Linked DNA regions of Homo sapiens: regions 1, 2 and 3 are each linked to region 4. Evidence: promoter capture Hi-C in human tissues and cell types (Jung and others, 2019). All regions are on one chromosome and are shown on one strand. Each heading gives the region's core, a stretch centred on a gene start or on the middle of the fragment in contact. The rest is flanking DNA. Distances are from core to core; before and after follow the strand shown. Region 1 has its middle 23 kb from the start of ABTB2. Region 2 overlaps ABTB2 (ankyrin repeat and BTB domain containing 2). Region 3 has its middle 9.2 kb from the start of CAPRIN1. Region 4 holds the start of APIP (APAF1 interacting protein).

The links. The method cuts DNA at HindIII sites, captures the fragments that hold promoters and counts their contacts. A contact is called where the count stands out against the background at its distance.
Region 1: a contact is called between a fragment that was not itself captured here and the fragment with the promoter of APIP in region 4, in 1 of the 25 tissues and cell types used here (spleen).
Region 2: a contact is called between a fragment that was not itself captured here and the fragment with the promoter of APIP in region 4, in 1 of the 25 tissues and cell types used here (dorsolateral prefrontal cortex).
Region 3: a contact is called between a fragment that was not itself captured here and the fragment with the promoter of APIP in region 4, in 1 of the 25 tissues and cell types used here (spleen).

What each region holds. Positions count from the first base shown.
Region 1 is chr11:34,379,020-34,382,240 of GRCh38, reverse strand. No RefSeq gene overlaps it. Among named protein-coding and RNA genes, the nearest start is that of ABTB2, 23 kb to the right of the region's middle. The HindIII fragment of the contact is 4,751 bases long and covers 1-3,221 here.
Region 2 is chr11:34,349,246-34,352,445 of GRCh38, reverse strand. The region is part of intron 1 of ABTB2 (ankyrin repeat and BTB domain containing 2); the gene reads left to right. Among named protein-coding and RNA genes, the nearest start is that of ABTB2, 7.2 kb to the left of the region's middle. RefSeq lists an enhancer at 251-300. The HindIII fragment of the contact is 5,708 bases long and covers 1-3,200 here.
Region 3 is chr11:34,040,811-34,044,232 of GRCh38, reverse strand. No RefSeq gene overlaps it. Among named protein-coding and RNA genes, the nearest start is that of CAPRIN1, 9.2 kb to the left of the region's middle. The HindIII fragment of the contact is 8,987 bases long and covers 1-3,422 here.
Region 4 is chr11:34,914,456-34,917,783 of GRCh38, reverse strand. It overlaps APIP (APAF1 interacting protein), which reads left to right and starts at 1,405. Exons shown (of 7, transcript NM_015957.4): 1 at 1,405-1,556. The coding sequence starts at 1,500. PDHX (pyruvate dehydrogenase complex component X) reads right to left here and starts at 1,166. Exons shown (of 11, transcript NM_003477.3): 1 at 969-1,166. The coding sequence starts at 1,128. RefSeq lists an enhancer at 865-1,164 and silencers at 1,335-1,384, 1,405-1,744. The HindIII fragment of the contact is 5,804 bases long and covers 1-3,025 here.

The sequences.
Region 1 (3,221 bases), core at 689-3,188, 540 kb after region 4:
ACATTTCACCCACTGCATTATGTCTAGGATCAGCCTCAAAGCCAGCTCCTGAAGGGCATAGCAGATTGCATCTAATATGTGCCATCAAAACTGGCCCACTACTCCTTTTCAGCCTATCCGGAATCAAGCAGGCATGAAAAATGGACATCATGGAGATGTGATGACAGAAGGCACATACCTAGATTTCTTTCCTCATAGTACAGTGGTTGTTAAGAGCACAGAGTCTAGAACTAGCTAGATTCTTGGGCTCCAAATCCTGGCTCTACTAGCTCTATGACCTTATCAAGTTACTGACCATCACTGTGCTTTGGTTGCCTCATCAGTGGAAAAGATCATAGGGTTGTGATGAGAAAAACAAGTTAATAAATGTAAATAAATATGCATGGTGCATAGTAGGTACTATATAAGAGCTGGCTGCAAAAAATAAGGCCTTTCTCCTGTGATCCCATTAGTATTATGCTTTCATATTTATATGTTTTTGGTAAAGTCTTCCTTTTCTTCTTTTTCTTATATAAGAACAACATAGTTTCACTACAAAGAACTCAGAAAGGACAGGGAAGCAAAATAAACTTTTTCAAGAAAAAAAAATCCACAATCCCTTTCCTCAAGGGAAAACCACTACTAACATATCATATTTCACCCATCTATGTATTTTTATTTTTGCAATAGTGTTCTGTAACACATCTTTTTAAAATTTGACAATATATTATGGACATCTTCCACATCTAGAAATATATTTCTACAGTGTCTTTTTAGTTATCACAAAGTATTCTGTTAAATGAGTATTTCATACTTTACCTTGCCAATTTTCTGCTGTTGAATATTGGCATTATTTCTGTTTTTGTTTGGTTGTTTTTTGTTTGTTTGTTTGTTTTTGTTATTACAGATAGCACTGTGATGAACATCTTTAGAGCTAATTTCTAGTGCATGTCCATAATATTTCCATAGGATAAATTCTCAGAAATAAAATTGCTAGGTCAAAAATCATGCGTATTTTTAAGGCTTTGATGAGTGTGCTTCAATTGATCTCCAGAAAAAAAAAATGCATCCAAGTATCCATTCATTTCCTTACCCCTCTTGAAAATACTATTATTTCTGTTTCATTTACAGTTTTCCTACAATCCTTACTAAGATCCCCAAACTTGATGGTGTCTTTGATATAGCACCCACAACACACAAATCTGTGATTTCTATGTATTATTTACCCTCAGCCCTTGGCCCCTGACCTTTCATCTTAGCTGCATCTCGAGGACTTCCTCTGGTGGACTGGATTTTTACCATGATGTATTTTATGGTGGGATTGTCAACACATCAGATGGACGATGTGATTGTCAACACATACCCTGACTAATATCTAAGTCTTCTGACACACTTTTATGTGCTGCTTACTCAATTACTCAACATTTACTCATCACCAGCTGAATTTGTGAACTACATGCTAGGGAAGCAAAGATGAATAATAATAGTCTTTGACCTAGAGGATCTTCAGCTAAAGGGAGGCAGATAGGTAAAAAGATAAATCACAATGCAATGGGAAATATGCTTTTAAAACATTTTTATCCCATGTCATGATAGCAGAAATTGCTATGCAGTTCATTCATTTATTTCCATAATACATAATAGGTCCAAGCTCTATACTTTCATTTTCAAAATTTATTATTTTTTTATAACAAAGCAATACATGCTCATTTCAGAAAGATCAGAAAATGTAGACAAACAGGAAAAAAACGCTACTTTTAAACTGTAATCCCATCTGTCTTGTCACCATTAGCACTTTCATATATTAAGTTGTTTTCTACTTTTTTAAAACAAAAGTTAGATCAAAACACACATGTTGGCTGGGAGCAGTGGCTCATACCTGTAATCTCAGCAATTTGGGAGGCTGAGGCAGGCAGATCACTTGAGGTCAGGAGTTCGAAACCAGCCAGCCAACATGGTGAAACCCCATCTCAACTAAAAATACAAAAATTAGCTGGATGTGGTGGTGCATGCCTGTATTCCCTGCTACTTGGGAGGCTGAGCCAAGAGAATCATTTGAATTCGGGAGGTGGAGGTTGCAGTGAGCCTGGGTGACAGAGCGAGACTCCGTCTCAAAAACAAACAAACAAAAAACATTTCTGTGATTTGCTTTTTTCACCTAATTATCATAAACATATTTCAAGACAAAAGATATATTTCTGCATCACTTTAAATGGCTCCATATTATTCCACTATATGGATATTTACTTATTTTTAACAATCTGCCATTGTTAGACAGTTACATGTTTATATCTTTTTATAATTACTAACAATACTGCAATTGATTTTGTTGCTAAATATTTGTGCTCATTCTTATTTCTTTACCACAAATTCCAATAAGTTAAGTCATGTGATATTTGAAATGCTTTTCTCATAGTCAGATTTAGAGGCAATGGCTGTAATAGATATCTCCCAGCTCAGTTGCTTTTTGTGGCTTTGGGTTTCAGTCCTACCTGCTAAAGATTAAACTTGATCAAAGGTGCATGTTCTAAGTGACATTAGCAGTGTAGTAATCTAGGAGGTCATAGCCCTTGTCCTGCCACAAAAAAAAAAAAAAAAAAAAAAAAAAAAAAAAAATTTCATAAGCTCCATAGACAAATATAGCCCCAGGAAAGCTCTGGAGTACAATTAAGAAGATGCAGCAATCTAAAAGAACTGAGAACACCCACATAGAATACGGTAGGAAGCGTTTTGCCTGCATTCACCTCATTCCCCAGACAAGCAGAGCCCAGTGAAGAAGAATTTCTTCTGCTGTGAGTCCCCCAGTTGGGAAAAAAAGAGAGCAAAAGGACTTGGCAGGCTTCACCATCGAGGACCCCAGCAGTCATTGTGCTAAGGCCCTGCAGTCTTTGCCAAGAGTAACCCCAGCTGCCAGAGTCACCCAGAGCCCATCAAGCTACTTCCTCATGCCAGCCACAGATAAAGGTCTTTCCCTACCAAAGACAGTCTGTAAAGTTTGAAAGAGGTGACTGTTTCTTCAAATGCACAGACACCAATAGGGTCATATCTTAAAGATATTGTGGTTTGGGTTTCAGACCACTGCAATAAAGTAAATATGCAGTAAAGTGAGTCACACAAATTTGTTGGCTTCCCAGTGCATATAAAATATGTTGATATTATACTGTAGTCTATAAAGTGTGCAACAGCATTATTTCCAAAAAACAATGTACATATCCTAATTTAAAAATACCTCATTGCTAAAA
Region 2 (3,200 bases), core at 52-2,551, 570 kb after region 4:
ATTTTCTCTTGGTAATGAGTGTTGTTTAAAATATTTTTTTTAAAGGGCAGGGTAATGGGATGGTGTGACGGGGCTAATTTAAATGACAGTCAAGGAATGCTTCTCTGAAGGTTTATTAGTAATAGCCAGTAATATCAATACTACTAAGGACCTTTAGGCCAAAAATAGTGACTGAGGACTTTTCTGAATGATTCAGTTATTCACCAGCTGAGAGAAGTCTCAACATCTCACTTAGAGCTGAGAAAGAAAAGGGCTGCATGTAGAGCAGGGACGAAACCTCTTCTGGTTGTGGGATTTATTTAGTGATGAGATTGTAGGATGAATTTCTACTGAGAGAAGCAACTGAAGCAGCAAGGGTTGATTGAGCTTGTCAGGTGGTGTTTAATCAGTTTCCACACCTGGGTAGTCTGAAGGATGAGGGCTGCTTCCTATCTCTTTAACCATTTTATTAAAGCCAAGAGAGTTGGTAAAACTGAAACAGAGCAAGCTTTGGAAATGAAAAATTTTTTTTTCTCGCACGCCTGAGAAAGGCAACCCTAGCCTTAAGTAGTAAGAGGAACAAGGTAGAGTTGTTCCACTTCCTCCTACTGAAAGCTCTACCTGACTCCCCCAGCTGGAAGAGCCACCCCTTTGTGATGTTTCCTCAGCACCCAGGACATATTCTTAAATCATTTCCTGCTTGTGTGTGTCTCTCCCATAAAACTGTGCACTTCATAGGCATTGCTGTCTTCCCTGTACCTCTCATGGTGTCTACAATATGTGCTCTATAAATGATGGGCAAATGATAGATCCCGCCATACAGGTTTAAAATTTGTATTTGAATTCCTTTGATATATCAGAACCGTCCCCATTTCTACCAAGGCAGAAAATTTCCAAGTTGTTCTCAATGAATAGAGTCAGCATTTTGGGGCTACATCCAACCTTTGGGTACCCTGCTTTCTAGCAGGGTTCCCAAGTCTGGCTTTGATGTGCAAGATGTGAGTTGGGGGAATTTTCAGTTTAGGAGAATGTCTTCAGTGTACAATACCCAAGAGGAAGGGCTTCACAACAGACGTCTGGTACAGCAGGCCACAGAAAAGTCAACAGGAGGATTGAGTTGAAGGTTTCCTTAAGAATGGAAATACCAACCGCCCCCTTGCCAACAGAGCTGCCCCAGAGGACAATTTATGTTGATGACTATTGCTCAGAAGAGTTTACATCTGTGTCCCACTCCATCTGCCTCCAGTCTGAGGACTGAACCAAGGTAATCAATTGCCAAGACATTCCTGGGTTGGCATCCCAAGAATGGGAAGTTCTGAAACAAACCAGAGACACTTGGTTGCACATCCTCAGCTTTGTCCTTATCCCACCTCACCATCAGTATTCATCCTTTGTCCGACAGGTCAGTGGGTAGATGCTTCGCCTCTATTTCTACTCTTATGCAGCTGTAGTAATAGGTCTGACTTTTCCACAACACCTCAAGCTTATTCTCATCTGTGAGCTTTCTAGGTCCCCATGAGAATCCTGTGAATGTGTGTCCTTTCACTGAGAGGTCTCCATGAGTCCAGAATTCACAGCTCAATAATAACTAAGCTCAATAATGACTAAGTCCCATTTTGCTCAAGCCCCAGGCCTGTGCTTTTCCTATAAAGAATTACAGAATCCAAGGTAGCAAATACAGGTCAGTACTTGGCCCCATTCAGATGGCAGCTAGGGTCAAACTCATAGCAAGAACAACACTTGTTATAGGTCTTGTTTGTTAATGGCCTATGGTGTCCAGACACTTTACATTTGTTAGGCCAGTGAGTGTTCACGACCACAGTGAAAGAGCAGGCACTGACACCCAGGGGTGTATCTTCCTCCAAAGGTTGCTGTTACTCTGTTTAAATGCTGCTTGCTGGCTCTCCCCACCCTAGAGGTGCCACTGATTTTAAAGAGCCATTATTGCTGCTCCTGGGGATGGAAGAAGAGGGCACAGAGAGCTCTGCTGCCCAGGGAGGGCCTTTATAAGTGTCACCTGCTGGTGACCAATAAGCTCAGCTGAATAGAGAAGCCGCAGAGTACACTGCGATGCTCTTCTAAAGGATGGGCGGGTCAGCTCAGCAAAGGCTAATACATGAAGGAGAGAAGGCACCAAGAGGGATTTGAGTCTAGGTCACTGGTCTTGGGGAGCTTGGTGCACCTGTCCTGGAGTTGGCAGAAGAGCCTGTATGAAGGGGGCTTTGATTTCCTCCGAGTCCCCCATGGTGTCCGGCTGCTGACTCCATCTCGGTGTTTAGAGCACAGGGAGAGAATGAGTCAGCGATGTAGCAAAGCAGTGAAGGGCCCAGACTTTGGAGTCTGAATTGAGTCCCAGATTGATTTGCCTCTTACTGACCTAGGCCTTCAAGCAAGTCACACTATGTTTCTATTTCCTCTACTGTAAAATGAGAGGCTTGTACACATGCGGTTGTGCCTTATGCATACTCAGTGCCCTGGGATGTGAGAGATGCAGCCAGGCTTACTGGTGAGAGCACAGCACGGGGTGGGGCTGCCTGGCTGTAATTCCTCATAACTTCACTTGGGAGCTGTGTGACCCTGGGCAAGTTGTTTCACTTCCGTGCCTTAGTTTCTTCCTTGATCACAGGGCACCATTGACATTTTGGACTGGTTAATGTTTTGTCATGAGGTTGTCTTGGGCATTGTAGGATGCTTCATAGCCACCACCAGTTGAGACCATCAAAAATGTCTCCAGACTTTTCCAGATGTTCCCTGGGGAGCAAATTCACCCTTGGCTGTGAAACACAGCTCTATAAGATAGGACTGAAAATAGTACCCAACTCATAGGATGGTTGTGAGAATTTCATAAGAGTCCCTGTGAGGGACTTTGTGTTATGCCTGACACATAAGATATTCTAATTGTTTTTAACAAACTTGTGTTGGATCCACTGATTGTGTTCATTTTTGCCAAAGTCTCTGGTGCAAGGAGGGTCACGACCCAAATCTCAGGGAGATGGGTATTACTCGCAAGGCTTTCCTTGGTGGCTAACAGTTTGTTTGTGGAGGTAGGAGGAAGTTATGGAATCTGGAAAAGCACCCTTGCACCTTGCTCAGTTATGGCTCGATTACCCCCAACAACAAGTGGTCTGGCAGTGGGCAGAGAGATTAGATCTCACCCTCTGAGCTCAAGCCCATCTCTGCCAGGATGACAGCAAGAGTGCACATTCAAAGCTCCAGGCCCC
Region 3 (3,422 bases), core at 575-3,074, 870 kb after region 4:
AAAACCAAAAAGAGGGCAGAAGAGAAAAAATAGAAGGAGATATTGGACATCCTAGTCATACCCCATTTAGACTTTGCCTACAGAGGACAATGAAAGAAGGCAGCAACCTTTTCTCTGGGCCCTCCTTGTCTAAACCAAATGCAGATCTGGCAGCCCTATAGTATTGCAAGATCATATTCCTTGGCGTTCTTTGGAGCTAGAGCTGGTGGTGTTTCTCCTCGTGAATGCTGTGCTAACATCCACCTAAAGCGGAAAGAAGACAGTTCTTTAGGATAGCTAGGGCTGATTTGATGTGAGAAAAAGAAATGATGGTGTGACAAGGAATGCGTTTATGCAGCCTTTTCACAGAAAAAAAGTATAAATTATAATTAAATATTTTTAAACCTTCATTTTTAAAAAATTGCAAGAGTAATACAAGTTTATTGCAAATAATTTAGATAAGTAAATTATGCAAAACTAAAACAACAGCTCAGTGTGTTGTATAACTTTTATTGGGCTCTAATTTACCTATCATAAAATTAACCCATTTAAAGTGTACAATTAACTGGTTTTTAGTATATTTGATATTTGAGAGTAATGCAACCATTGCCATTACCTAATTTTAGGACATTTTTATCACCCCAGGAAGTAACATGTACCTCATTAGCAGTCATTCCCCATTTACCCCTCCTCCTAGCCCCTGGCTACTGCTAATCTACTTTCTCTATGAAATTGCCTATTCTGGACATTTTAGATAGCTGGAACCCTACAATATATGGCCTTTTGTGCCTGGCTTATTTCACTTATCATAGTATTTTTAAGATACATCCTTGTTTTGGCATGAATTTCATTCCTTTTTATGGCTGAATAATATTCCATTGAATAGGTATACTAGAGTTTGTTTGTCTATTCATCCATTGATAGACACTTGGGGTGTCTTCCACTTCTTGGTTGTTGTGAATAATGCTGTTGTGAATATTTGATATGGTTTGGATTTGTGTCCCCACCCAAATCTCATGTCAAATTGTGATCCCCAATGTTGGAGAAGGGGCCTAGTGGGTGGGAGGTGATTGGATCATAAGGGCAGACTTCCCTCTTGCTGTTGCTGTGATAGTGAGTTTCACGAGATCTGGTTGTTTAAAAGTGTGTAGCACTTCCACCCTCACTCTGTCTCTCCTGCTGCACCATGTGAAGATTGTGCCTGCTTCCCCTTTGCCGTCTGCCATGATGATAAGTTTCCTGAGGCCTCCCCCAGCCTGTGGAACAGTAAGCCAATTAAACCTCTTTTCTTTATAAATTACCCAGTCTCAGGTAGTTTTTTTTTTTTCAACGGAGTCTCACTCTATCACCAGCCTGTAATGCAGTGACGCGATCTCGGCTCACTGCAACCTCTGCCTCCTGGGTTCAAGTGATTCTCCTGCCTCAGCCTCCCAAGTAGCTGGGACTACAGGCACGCGCCACCATGCCTGGCTGATTTTTTTTTGTATTTTTAGTAGACACGGGGTTTCACCATGTTGGCCAGGATGGTCTTGATCTCTTGACCTCATGATCCACCTGCCTTGGCCTCCCAAAGTGTTGGGGTTACAGGTGTAAGCCACTGCACCTGGCCTCAGGTAGTTCTCTATAGCAATGAGAGAACAGACTAATGCAACATTCATGTACAAGTTTTTTGTATGAACACATGTTTTCAATTCACTAGGTATACACCTACAGTAGATTGCTAGGTTATATGGTAACTTTATGTGTAATGTTTTTGTTTTTGTTTTTGTTTTGGGATGGAGTCTCGCTCTGTTGCCCAGGCTGGAGTGCAGTGGTGTGATCTCGGTTCACTGCAGCCTCCACCTCCCGAGTTCAAGCGATTCTCCTGCCTCAAGCTCCAAAGTAGCTGGGCCTGTAGGTGCGCACCACAACGCCCGGCTAATTTTTTTTGTATTTTTAGTAGAGATGGGGTTTCATCATGTTGACCACACTGGCCTCAATCTCCTGACCTCGTGATCCGCCCTCTTCAGCCTCCCAAAGTGCTGGGATTACAGGCATGAGCCACTGTGCCTGGCCTACATGTAATATTTTGAGCAACTGCCTAAGTGTTCTCCAAAGTGGCTGCACCATATTCAGCTTTGTATGAGGTTTCAATTTCTTTACATCCTCATCAAACACTTGTTATTAGCCATGTTTGTTTGTTTGTTTGTTGTTTTTGTTTTTTTGAGACAGAGTCTCGCTCTATCGCCCAGGCTGGAGTGCAATGGCACAATCTCAGCTCACTGCAACCTCCACCTCCCAGGTTCAAGCTATTCTTCCGCCCCAGGCTCCCAAGTAGCTGGGATTACAGGCACCTGCCATCATGCCCAGCTAATTTTTGCATTTTTTGTAGAGACAGGGTTTCAACATGTTGGCCAGGCTGGTCTTGAACTCCCGACCTCAGGTGATCTGCCCACCTTGGCCTCCCAAAGTGCTGGGATTACAGGTGTGAGCCACCGCGCCCCGCCCTTAGCCATGTTTTTGATTATCGCTGTGCTAGTGAATGTGTCTCAGTGAGAAGCAGTACCTTATTGGGGCTCTATTTGCATAACTGGTTGTCTTTAAACAAGGATTAGATTATTCCACTCTTTGTGGGATTTACATATGATTTTGGAAGAAAGTGGGGGAAATGGAATCATATTTCAAGGGTTCTTTTACCTTTATGATTAGGACTGTCACAGCTCTAGTGTCTACATTGCCAGGCAATGCTATGAAGCACTCAGCTGATGAGGCCTTGGGAAGAAAGTATCAGAAGACTAATACTGGCAGTGAGTGGACACTCAGGCATGTCTGTTGACTGGGATTTGATGATGATTAAACTTAGGCAAGGTCGATTTTTATGTACCGGAAATGTTTGATTTTAGCATTTGGAAGACTTCTCAGCCCCTCATTACTTCTGCAACAAGAACTTAGCACCTTGTGCATGCCAGGCACTGTCTGTGTTTATTCACATGTTGAATAAGACATAATCCTATGGCCTCCAGAAAATTAGTATTAAGAAGGGTAGTCAAATATATAAAGAGATACAATTTAATGTGATATACTTCAGTGAGATACTACTACATAGTCACCAAAATGGCTAAAATTTAAAAACTGAAATGGGCCAGGCACATTGGCTTATGCCTGTAATCCCAGCACTTTGAGAGGCCAATGCGGGCAGATGGCCTGAGCTCAGGAGTTAAAGACCAGCTTGGGCAACATGGCGAAACCCCATCTCTACAAAAACTACAAAAATTACCTGGGCATGGTGGCACGTGCCTGTAGTCTCAGCTTCTTGGGGGGCTGAGGAGAGAGGATCTCTTGAGCCTGGGAGGTTAAGGCTGCAGTGAGCCATGTTCGTGCCACTGCACTCCAGCCAGGGTGACAAAGCAAGACCCTGTCCTAAAAGCAAAAGAAAACAAAACAAAAACAAAGCAAAACCTGAA
Region 4 (3,328 bases), core at 156-2,655:
TTACACCAAAAATGAAATAAATTGTTCCCATTAAGGAACCTTTAGGAACCCCAATACACTCATCTTACCATATGACTTTGTGTGATTTTTTTTTTCTGAGCCTAAGGTAGCTCAGAATATGAAGGCAACGTCTACTAGACCTATTTAAATTAAAATTCATTCTGTAGAGTGCCAGGAACGATGATTGGCAGGTAATACGTCACACTAAAAAACGTCAGTCCTATTCTCCATCCCCGCCTCCCTCCAACCTTCTCCCAAAATAAGGAAAAATAATACCCGGCCTGCCATTTTGCATACTGTTAAATACTGCAAGAATTGTGTTAACTGCATCAATATCATTACTAAACAACAATTTTCTATAATAAATTTTTGGTATGATTTATCTCCTAAATGTTTGCTCTTTCAAGCGAATATTTGCTTGAAACATTCTCCTGGACCTTTGTCTATCGTGATGCCGTAGGAATTTACAAATTTAAGTCTTCCACGAGTCATGGCGTGGGGTAAAACTCGACTGGCCTCAATGAAAACACCTCCTAACAGAGAGAGGCCTAGAGAATAAGTAAGAACTCCCAACAGTGGCTTTTCAATCTCGGCAACCTTGGGCAGCTTTTTCTCGTCCGAGACGTTTGACAACCCTAAAGAAACCTGAGCCTTGATTGGAAAGGGGGCTGAGGGAGGAGAGTTTGGGAACCCTCTCTGCGCCTCACAAATAACCCAAATTCCAAGGCAAGGTCACAAAGCCATACAAACCAGGGGGCCTAGGGCAGAGTCGAGTTCTCTCAGCTGCCAAGAAAGCCCTTCACAGCATGCATTAGGCCAAGTCGGCGGACCCCAACCGGAGAAAGAGGAAAGGGAATAAGGAGCCCGCGCACCTTCACACCCAAAAGCAGGCCCTCAATCATAACTGCCCCTGTCCCAGGCCCATCACTCAGCTACACAGAGAAGCTGAGCGAGCCCCGGCCACTCACCCCGAAGCCACTGCGTGCTGTGAAACCATCTCCAATTAGCTCCGCGGCTTACAGACCACCCAAGAGCCCCCTTCACCAGCCCTACGCTTCGGCGGCCGGGGAAGCCCACAAGATAACGCAGCAGCCGCGGATCACAGCCCAGCCTCCAGGAGGCCGCCATCTTGACGGCCTTCTCACTGGCTGCCCGCAGCACAGCCTGATGTCCAGCATCAAGGCCCCGCCTCCCGCATGGTTGGCCACGCCCCCAGACGCTAGCGGTGCCTTTAGGTCTCTCAGACTTGAACCCCCGCCCCCCAACCCAGCCCCGCCTCCAACCACGTTGGCCTTGCCTCCCGGGAAGTCAGGTGCGCCGCTGGATATCTCAGCCGGCGGGGCCTTACCAGACCCCGGCCCCCGCCCCGTTCGCCCCGCCCCCGGGCTGCCCTCAGCGCCGCCTGATTGCATTTGCGGCCTCGCTGCCGTATCCCAGGCTAAGCGCCGCGCGCAAAGCCGTGCGGAGATTGGAGGCCGCGCGGGTCCCTGGTCTGGGCCATGTCTGGCTGTGATGCTCGGGAGGGAGACTGTTGTTCCCGGAGATGCGGCGCGCAGGTAGGGGCGGGGCCACCGGTGCCCGGTATTCCCAGGAGGAGAGGCCCAGGCGGGACCCGGCGGCTGGAGCTGGGCGCAGGGTAGCGGGCCGGGCGTTTAGCTGCGGGGCGGGGTTTCGGGCCTGGCCGTTCGCTACCCCGGCGCACCGCGACCTTGGCGTTCGGAAGCAAGGCTGCGAGGCCCCAGGAGATCAGTGGTCTCGGGCGGGGCGCTCCGATGGCGGGAGCTGGGCGCCAAACGTTGGAAAGAAGCAAATAACTGAGAGAGGAGAGCGTTTAGGTGACCTCACCGGGTATTTATCAGGAAGGCAGGCCAGAGAAGGAATCGTGAAGCACCGAAGTGGAGCTGGGGCGAAGACCGCGCCCCCCAAGCTTCTTTTCTGCGCCCTGACGACCAGTTAGGCGTTTGGGGGGACGTTTGGCACTCGGGAGACGTTTGCCGAACCGGAGCTGTGCCTCAGCTGCCAGCGCTTTGCCTTTGAGCAGTTGCTCCTTGCCTATCTCCGTTTAGATGAATTGTGGGATGATCATGGGAACGATTCTTCCTTAAGCCGAAGTCAAAGGGAAATCCACCCTCACGCTGCATGTAGTTTTCGGTCATTTACACAAACCAACAGTTTTATGGAGCGCCTTCTACACGCTCAGAGATAGGGATACGTAAGATAAATGGCCCAGGGTCTGGAGAACTAGACGAATAAGCAGTTTCAGCACAATATGATAAACCCCACCTAAGAGGCAGGGAAACCCCTCAAAATTAGTTTCCTTATTCCCCCTATCTTATTCCTCCTATCTATATCTTTCTTAGGGTTGAAAATCCTAATTAAAAAGTAGTAACTCGCGGGAGATTTCATTGCTAAACATTTGTCAACCACTTTCTTGTTTGAATAAGTGACTTCCCCAAATTAGCAAAGACGACTCTGAAAATAGAATGCTGCATAGGCAAGATTGGATGAGAGAGAGAAGATCTTGGAGACAGGACAGGTAACTGGAGATCGTTCCTGGGCAAGTGTGTATGGAGAAGTGTCCGTACCCTCAATCAGTAAATCTTAGTGTAATGTCATCAGAATGAGCATCAAAGAGAGCCTTAAGGGACCCGAGAATAAACTAGGATTCTCAAACCAAACATGGCCCACAGACAGCTTGGTGGACAGGCATGTTTTTTTTTTGCTGCACTCAATGTTCATGAAAAATTTGAGCCAACCTTTTTTTTTTTTTTTTTTTTTTTTTGACACGTTTTGCTCTTGTTGCCCAGGCTGGAGTGCAGTGGCGTGATCTCAGCTCACTGCAACTTCTGCCTCCTTGGTTCAAGCGATTTTCCTGCCTCAGCCTCCCAAGTAGCTGGGATTACAGGCGCATGTCACCACACCCAGTTAATTTTTGTATTTTTAGTAGAGACTGGGTTTCACCATGTTGGCCAGGCTGGTCTCGAACTCGTTATCTCAGGTGATCCACCCCCCTAAGCTGCCCAAAGTGCTGGGATTACAGGTGTAAGCCACCACGCCCTGCCAAGCCAACATTTCAAAATCCAGAATCATTTCAGCTTCTTTTAAAACCTCAGAACACATGGTGACATTGGGCCCTTATTTTTTCATGGGATCTGGATTGCGGTTACTAGTGAACACCACCTTTACAGAGGGTGCTGGCCAGGTTACCACAGCTTCCACTACTCACACTGGATTTGCATATCTAGTTAAATACATGAGCCCCTCTAGATATTTGTATTTGTCTGGTTTTGTACAAATACATAAAAACAGCAATAAGAAAAGTTTTAAG